Linked DNA regions of Homo sapiens: regions 2 and 3 are each linked to region 1. Evidence: promoter capture Hi-C in 16 types of primary human blood cells and fetal thymus (Javierre and others, 2016). All regions are on one chromosome and are shown on one strand. The core of a region is centred on a gene start or on the middle of the fragment in contact, and the rest is flanking DNA. Distances in the headings are between cores, read along the strand shown.

Evidence for each region. The method cuts DNA at HindIII sites, captures the fragments that hold promoters and counts their contacts. A CHiCAGO score of 5 or more calls a contact.
Region 2: a fragment that was not itself captured here is called in contact with the fragment with the promoter of RGS5-AS1 in region 1 in 1 of 17 cell types (monocytes); the score reaches 5.2 in monocytes.
Region 3: a contact is called between a fragment that was not itself captured here and the fragment with the promoter of RGS5-AS1 in region 1, in 3 of 17 cell types (monocytes, M2 macrophages and endothelial precursors). The highest score is 7.5, in monocytes.

Annotation. Positions count from the first base shown.
Region 1 is chr1:163,160,423-163,163,122 of GRCh38, reverse strand. It overlaps RGS5-AS1 (RGS5 antisense RNA 1), which reads right to left and starts at 1,448. Exons shown (of 4, transcript NR_110699.1): 1 at 1,282-1,448; 2 at 247-337. RGS5 (regulator of G protein signaling 5) reads left to right here. Exons shown (of 5, transcript NM_003617.4): 3 at 1,147-1,208. The HindIII fragment of the contact is 14,512 bases long and covers 1-2,490 here.
Region 2 is chr1:162,989,177-162,991,876 of GRCh38, reverse strand. No RefSeq gene overlaps it. Among named protein-coding and RNA genes, the nearest start is that of RGS4, 79 kb to the left of the region's middle. The HindIII fragment of the contact is 4,782 bases long and covers 1-2,700 here.
Region 3 is chr1:162,909,869-162,912,568 of GRCh38, reverse strand. No RefSeq gene overlaps it. Among named protein-coding and RNA genes, the nearest start is that of CCDC190, 50 kb to the right of the region's middle. The HindIII fragment of the contact is 5,166 bases long and covers 1-2,700 here.

The DNA of each region.
Region 1 (2,700 bases), core at 199-2,698:
GGGACAGCAAAATGAAAAGTAGAACAAGCAGCTGTCATATCAACCAAAGCTGCAAATCTGAATAATTAACCACCCCCCCCCCCGAAATATCATTGTATAAAAACTAGAAGCAGGAATTTTTTTTGATTGCCTGGACAGTTGATAAACAAATTAAGAGCTAAGGAAATTCCAGTTTAGGAAAAACTGGCCTTAATATTCTAGTAAATGCTTTGTCAGTCTGTTTTGATTTGGCAACGAAGAACTCACATCATAATGCAAGAGTTCGAGCTGGGTGAGCCGAAGAGTGTGCAGTCAGCCATTTTTCCCGGACAATATCAGCTCCACTTGACACATCCTGCTGTGAGAGAAAAATTGGTGGTTGAGATGAAATAGCTTCAGGGTTTCTGCATATATAAATGTTAAAATAGAAACAGCCTAAGGAGAAATTATATGTTGGCTATAACCTTCTCCTTTTGAGTCAGCATCTCAAGCATTTGTGTATAACATTCCTGTTCAGGATATATTAACCACTCTTTTTTTTTTTAAATTAGAAAGAGTAAATCTTTAAAAAAAAGTCTGATCCTGTTATAAGTGGGTAGGAAAAATGCGCCTACGTTTTTAACATGTAAATTTGCTATGATCACAATCCCAACATAAGGAAAGCATTATACACTCACATCTTCCACTATCCTTAATTAGACAGCTTTGGGATGTGGATGTGGAACCCCAATGCCCTCTGCTGATTCAGTTAGGTGGTTAACATGCAGTATTGGTGAGGCAGAGAACAGGAGTTCAATCTCTGTAATGGGACAACTGGATTTCATGAAGTTATATTTGGAAAAAAGACCACAGTTGGAACAACTTTCATGGGATACATAAGACTATCAAGACACAGCTTAATGTCAAACGAACTCTACTTTTAAAAAGGGAAAGACCTAACCAAAATGTTCAAAAAAGATGAAGATATGCAATAAAGATGTATGAAAGCAAACCCAGCTCATCAAACCCAATTGTTAGAGAGAAAATAACTTAAACTTCCTTGTCCTGAGGATAGACCAGCAGTCATATCATTTCCATCTAAGAGAAACAGGAAGTAGTTATTGCTGGTACATGTGGTTCAATGCCTACTTACGCCATACCCCTTTTCTCTCCTTATTATTGATGTAGAACCTCGCTGGACGAGGCCCTGCAGTGGCGTGATTCCCTGGACAAACTCCTGCAGAACAACTGTAAGTTTCCATTGTTTGTTTTTTTAAATAAAGGTCAGGTTAGAGACAGAAACAAAAAACATCTTTGTATTACCTGTGTTCTTCTTCCCCAATGTTGACATTTCTTCAATTTTTGAAGGTGATATCAATAAGGGAAGGGGGCTGCAGGTATGTGATTATCCAGTTCACAAGAAAAGGAGGGTCTGTGGCACTATGAGGGAATGTGAACATAAGGTGTTCTGAAGACTCATGATTGCAGTTGTGTTCCCATCTGTCCTGCTTACTTGCATGAGCCAGAACAAGTGGCTTGACCTCCTCAACATTCTCATCAGTAAAATAGAGAAATTACATTTCCTGACTTAGCCTCATAATAAATTGATAAAGATCAGATATAGCAGCATAAAGATCGCTAACAAGTCATGAGTAGTACATCCTGGTTCAAACTATTATACTGTCAACTGCTCTTGTGACCTGACATGGGTTGTTATCTCCCCCAGCCTCCGTTTCCTCTTCTGGCACCATGCCTTTTACATCTTAATTCAAGAAATGACAAAGGTGCTGATCAGTGCAGACTCTTTTCCAAGCTAATACCAGTGCATCAATAAGCACTAGGTGCATTTCCCCAATCCAAAATCCTTACTGATTCCCATGGCTTACAGTACCAAGTTCAAATTTCTGATGTTCAAGATCACCATAACTATATGGCCGGTCTGCAGGCAAATTGAACAGTTCTCTGTTCCATATAGGATTTCTACATATAATCCCCTTGGCTGGAATATCTTTTACTCATATCTCTCTCTCTTGAAATTCTCCCTCTCCTATAATAGATAATTCAAATAAGAAATGCCTAGTGTTCCTTGACCATCCAGAACAATTTATCCACCCTCTGAAATTCCAAAGTCATTTGTCTGCACATCTTTTATTCTACTTAATACTTGCTGCCTTATGTTCTGTTCATAGTTGGCTCACTTCTATGATAGGTTATAAACTCACAAACGGGCAAGAATTAGTCTTTTTCATGTAGATAATTTCAAAACAGGAAGTATATAGTATCGGGAAAACAAATATTTGTTGAATAATTCACTCTAAAAGTATGAGTCAATTTAAAATACCCTACCTATATTTCTCCATCTTTATAACAAGAATGGAATATGAAACTTTGTCACATGCTTTGCAAAGATAAGGATTTACAAAATATTTCTCACAAGACCATTATGATTAATGGGCACAGAGTAGATGACAAAGAATATATGTTGAATTGTATATGAACATTCCTTATGTCTTGCTTTTGGTGTCATAAGCTTCTGCTTACCTGCAATAGAATTAATCTTTTATTTTTGGAGACAGAACCCCACAGTCTCTAATTTGGAACTTTCTCTAGCTTATTCATTTCTGATTCTCTCTCTTTTTTTCTTGTGCTAAACAAAGTACCCTGCCCTGACACATGTAAGATGTTTGGTGAATAGTTATGTAGTGAATGAGTGAATGAACTAAATTCATTTTGCTTCTTGGA
Region 2 (2,700 bases), core at 163-2,662, 170 kb after region 1:
GCCTACCCTTTGAGAACCCTTGATTTGGGGGAACCTTGTTACAGCATTAAAGTGTGTCAGCACCACTCTTCTTTCTAAATCTCTCGCTCACCTGCTTAATGAGACCCCTAATACCTCATAGAGATTCCAGTCTTCTCGCCACAGCACGCACATGGGGCAGGTGATCGCCTGTTGCCCTACTCCATCTCACACCAAACAGCCCCCTCCAGCTCTGCTGGGCCTTTTGTGGTTTCCTGAAGATCTGCAATGCTGTTTCAACTTGTTTGCAGTACCCGTACCTCTGGTTTGCAGTACCAGTATCTCTCCAGCTACAGAGATCTAGCTGGAGTATTCTTCAACAAGTTTTTGTTTAACCTTCAAAATTCAATTCCCACGGCCACCTCTCCTGTCTGCTTTCTCTAACTCCCATTTCTGCCTGCTTTGCCTCCCCCCACTCTCCTTCTTGAACCTCTCCACATTTGCACACATGAAGTTAACTAATTTGTCCTCTAGCCTTCGCATAACATAGTATCTGCCTCCATTTCCACTCACCACATTACTTCAGTTTTTTGTTTTTTTTGTTTTTAAGAGATGGAGTCTCGCTCCATCACCCAGGCTGGAGTGCAGTGACGACTCAATCTTGGTTCACTGCAACCTCCGCCTCCCGGGTTCAAGGAATTCTCCTGCCTCAGCCTCCCGAGTAGCTGGGACTACAGGCACATGCCGCCACACCTGGCTAATTTTTTTTTTTTTTTTGTAGTAGAGATGGGGTTTCACCATGTTTCCCAGACTGGTCTCAAACTTCTGAGCTCAGGCAATCCTCCCGCCTTGGCCTCCCAGAGTGCTAGGATTACAGGTGTGAGCCACTGCACACAGCCTGGATTTTTTAAATGTTAGTCAGCCTCCCGCTACTGAGTATGAGTTCCTTGGGGGCTGGAATGATACCTTCTGGATTTTTTAAGGGGAATGGCCATTAAGTATTAACATAAATGAACATCTGAGGTTGGATATGTGTTTTACGTTGCCCTCTTGAAATAAGATAAGCGGGTATGGTGAAGGAGTCACAGTGATTAATGGATAAGAATACCAGAAGCCATGGTCATGAGATTAGGGAAAATGTTGAAAAACTCCCTGAATAATGCCAGTGTTCATGGCTGTAAAGTTTATGACAATAAACTATGACAAACACTGTGAGAACAGTGAAAGAAAAGCCTAATACTTTGGGGTACACTGAAAAAATCAGGGTGCTGCACCTTGTGATGGCTTTTCATAATGAGCATCGAATGCCATGAACTGCACTTAGTTCTCTCCAGAAGTCACCCTTCTTCTTTTTCTCACAGAATTTCCACTGATGCCATTGCTTGAAGGGAGGCTTGGTAAGTGCTTGAAAAGAGTGTCCTCATCTTGGCTCCAGAGAGCCCACTGACAGATGACACACAAAGACAATAAAGGTGGGCTGACGTAAAACCTCACAGGACAGGAGACAGGACGAGGGCAATGTGTCTCTTTAGAAACGTGAATTCTTGAGGCTCTTCAAATACACATTTAGTGAGATTAAAAAGAACATCTCTAGCTTTTTGTAAAATGTAGAACCTTGAAGTCAGCATCTTTACTCTCAGTGTGGAAGGTGCCAAAGAAATAACATTTAACAGAAGTCTAGAAATGTCCCCTCAGCTTAAGAGAATGGGTCCAAAAAGGTGACATCGAGTCCTTTTGTCTTTTCACTTGGATCCCACATTGGACACATGGTTTGTCTGTGCTATCCACAGCAAGACTGGAGTGGGGAGGATGTGGCTGGAGCAGGGAGGATTTCTGTGGAGAAGCCTATGCTCAAATATGGATCTGCCCCTATAATGTGTTCCCTAGGCATGAAATGAGGTTAAATTCCAAAGCCTTCAGTATAGAGTACAATTTTAATGCATATACTTTAGTTGGAATGAAGAATTTGTGCAGGGAAGGGCCTGAGAGCAGATTTTAGATGGAGCAGGGCAAAGAAGAGAATATAGGTTGGGGAGAAGGAATCACTGTTTAGGGGAATAGCTCAACAAGAGACTGTGGTTGACAGAGGAAAATGCCATAACCTGTCCTAGGGGTAAGAAGGCACCTGTGCTTTCTTCTAAAGTCCTCCAATTCCTGATCTGAAAACTGGCAATGATGACCGGCTCTTGCCTCTTTGATCTAGAGATACACATTTTCTTCACACAGCGAGGGAGACATCCACTGCACAGCTACTGCCATTTTCTTCCTGGGACCCATTTCAACTCTCAAGTTCTATAACTTCACAATTCTTCAAGAGAAAAAAATAGGAGGAATAAATATTAAGTATGTGCTAATTCTTTCTGATGAGCTGAATTTGGGGTGGTGATGAGGGTTTGTAGGGGGTTGCATGGGAATGATCATTTACACTCGTAGGATATTAGAAGTGTTAAGGATTTTATTTCTGTTTTAATCCTACAGGCTTTACATTGTATATAGATCGCTGCAGAAAAAGTATGTGACTTATCCAAGATCACTAAGTAGTGGCTGTGTTTATTCTAGTTAGAAAACCTCCTGAACTCACTACCTTATGAGATTTCCATTAGAACTTTAATTGCAATTGGCTTAGAGCATTCTAAAGCTGAGTGATGAAATGGGGAGAGATAAGCTGGAATTCTAAACTACTTGGAAACCACATGATCCTTAAACAACCTTGACCCAATGCCCCGGGGATGGGAAAGGATA
Region 3 (2,700 bases), core at 153-2,652, 250 kb after region 1:
CTGAAGAACAGGAAAAAAAGAATAAGGAAAATGAACAGTCTAAGAAACCTGTGGGATAGCATCAAGTTCATTGACATACACAAAAGAAGAGCAGAACGAAAAAAGGAAAGAAAGGATATCTGAAGAAATAATGGCTGAAAACTTCCCAGATTTTGATGAAAACCATTAATCTACACATCCAAGAAACTCAACATACTCCAAATAAGATAAACATCAAGGAATCCATATGTCATAATCAAACTGTCAAATGACTGAAATAATTTTGAAAGCAGCAAGAGAGAAGTGACTTTTCACATACACAAGAGATTCTCAATAAGATTAACAACTGATTTCTCATCAGAAACAATGGGGAATAGAAGGCAATGAGATGACATATTCAAAGTGCTGACAGATTTTTAAAAAAAAAAAAGACAAAACTATTAAACAGGAACTCTATATCCAGCAGACCAGTAAAGGTGTTTTTCAAAAATGCAGGAGAAATTAAAACATTTGTAAATAAATAAAAACAAGAGAATTTATTATTAGCACACCTGCCCTACCAAAAAACACTGAAGTGTTTCCTTTAGGCTGAAATGAGAGGATGCTAGACAGTAGCTTGTTTGTTTGTTTGTTTGTTTGTTTGTTTGTTTGTTTTTCCCCAAGACTGAGTCTTGCTCTGTTGCCCAGGCTGGAGTGCAGTGGCATGATCTCTGCTCACTGCAACCTTCACCTCCCAGGTTCAAGCAATTCTCCTGCCTCAGCCTCCTAAGTAGCTGGAATTACAGAGACCTGCCACCACGCCAGGCTAATTTTTGTATTTTTAGTAGAGTTGGGGTTTCACCATGTTAGCCAGGCTGGTCTCGAACCCCTGACCTCATGATCTGCCCACCTCAGCCTTCAAAAGTGCTGGGATTACAGGCGTGAGCCACTGCGCCCGGCTGACAGTAGTTTTAATCCACATGCAGAAATAAAATACTAGTAAGGTAACTACATAAGCAAATATAAAACACAGTATAAGTCTATCTTTTGTTTGTAGCTCTTTTTTCTTCCATTTGACTTAAAAGTCAATTGCGTAAAGAAATAATTATAAATCTATACTGACAGTCAAATAATACATAAAAATACAAATTGTAGAACAATAACATCACAAAGGAACAAGGAGAGATTGGAGCTATATATATTATATACTGTCTCAACTAAATTGGTATTAATCCAAACTAAATTATTAAAAAGAATATGTTCATTGTAATCCCCAGGACAACCACTAAGAGAATAACTCAAAAAAATAGTAAACATTGATAAGGGAATTAAAATGGTACACTAGAAAGTATCTAGTTAATAGAAAAGAAGACAGTAATGGAGTAACAAACAAAAAAAGACATGTAGAAAATGAAGACTGTCAGATTTAAATCCTTTACCAGTAACTATATAAACTATAATGCATTAATCATAATTAATAAGTATAATAATTATATAAAATATAAATGCATTAAGCACTTAAAAGAGATTGAAAGAGATTGGCAGAACAAATTTTTAAATGATTCAACTATTTGTTGTCTAGAGAAAAACACTTCAGATTCAGAGACACAAATAGGTTGAAAGTAAAAGACTCAAAAAAGATGTATCATACAACAAGTAATCAAAAGAGAGTAGAGTGACTGAGCTAATCCAAACAAAATAGACTTTAAGAAAAAATTGTTACTGAAGACTTTCTTCCTCCTGACACCAGATATGTAGTCTTTTGCAATAACACTTCTTCAACTCTCAAACAACTAAGTGTCCTATAATTCAATTTAGTTCTGACACCAACTGCACAGAATTAGCATTAGACTTCACAGGTTTGAGAGCTCAGTCCCACAAAACTGCCCTCACTTTAGACACTAGCCATAGATCCTCAGATTACCCAGACTTCTTTCTGACATGGCTACAAATCTGGGGTTCCTCATAACCTCCCCCATGGCCTCACATTCAGCTCAGTTTTGATAATTTGCCAGAACAACTCACAGAACTCAGTAAAGTGTTTTTACTTGCTATTCACCAATTATTACAAAGGAGACACATCGGAACAAAGAATACAACTTTTTGAGGCATGAAAGAGAAACACAGGACAGGGTATGGAGAGGGGAGGCACAGAGCTTCCATGCCACACTGGGCATGCAAATTTCTCAGCTTCTTGATGTGTTCACTAATCTGGAAACTCTCTGAACCTCATCATTTAGAATAGCTTATGGAGGTTTCATTACATAGGCACGACTGATTAAATCATAGTCTGTGATTAAATTGCTATTGATGATTAACTCAGTCTCTAGTCCTTCTTTTCTCCCTGGAGTTTGGAGTATGGGGCTGAAACTTCTAAAACTTGGCTTTTCTGGAGACCAGCTCCCTTCCTGAAGCTATCTAGTGGCCTTCCAAGAAGAGTCACCTCATTAGAACAAAAGACAGTTCAAAATCCATATCGCTTAAAGAATTCCAAGAGTCTTAGAAGCTCTGTGCCAGAAACTGGGGACAAAGGCTAAACATCTTTCTTATTATGCCACAGGGACCCTTTATAATAATAAAAATCAACTCATCAAGTGGAGATAACAATCATAAACACCAATAAACTTAGCTACTGTAGCAAAAACTATAGAATTAAAGAGCAAAATAGGCACAATTCAATGATAATAGATATTTGAATACCCCACTTTCTTTTTTTTTTTTTTTTTTTGAGATGGAGTGTCA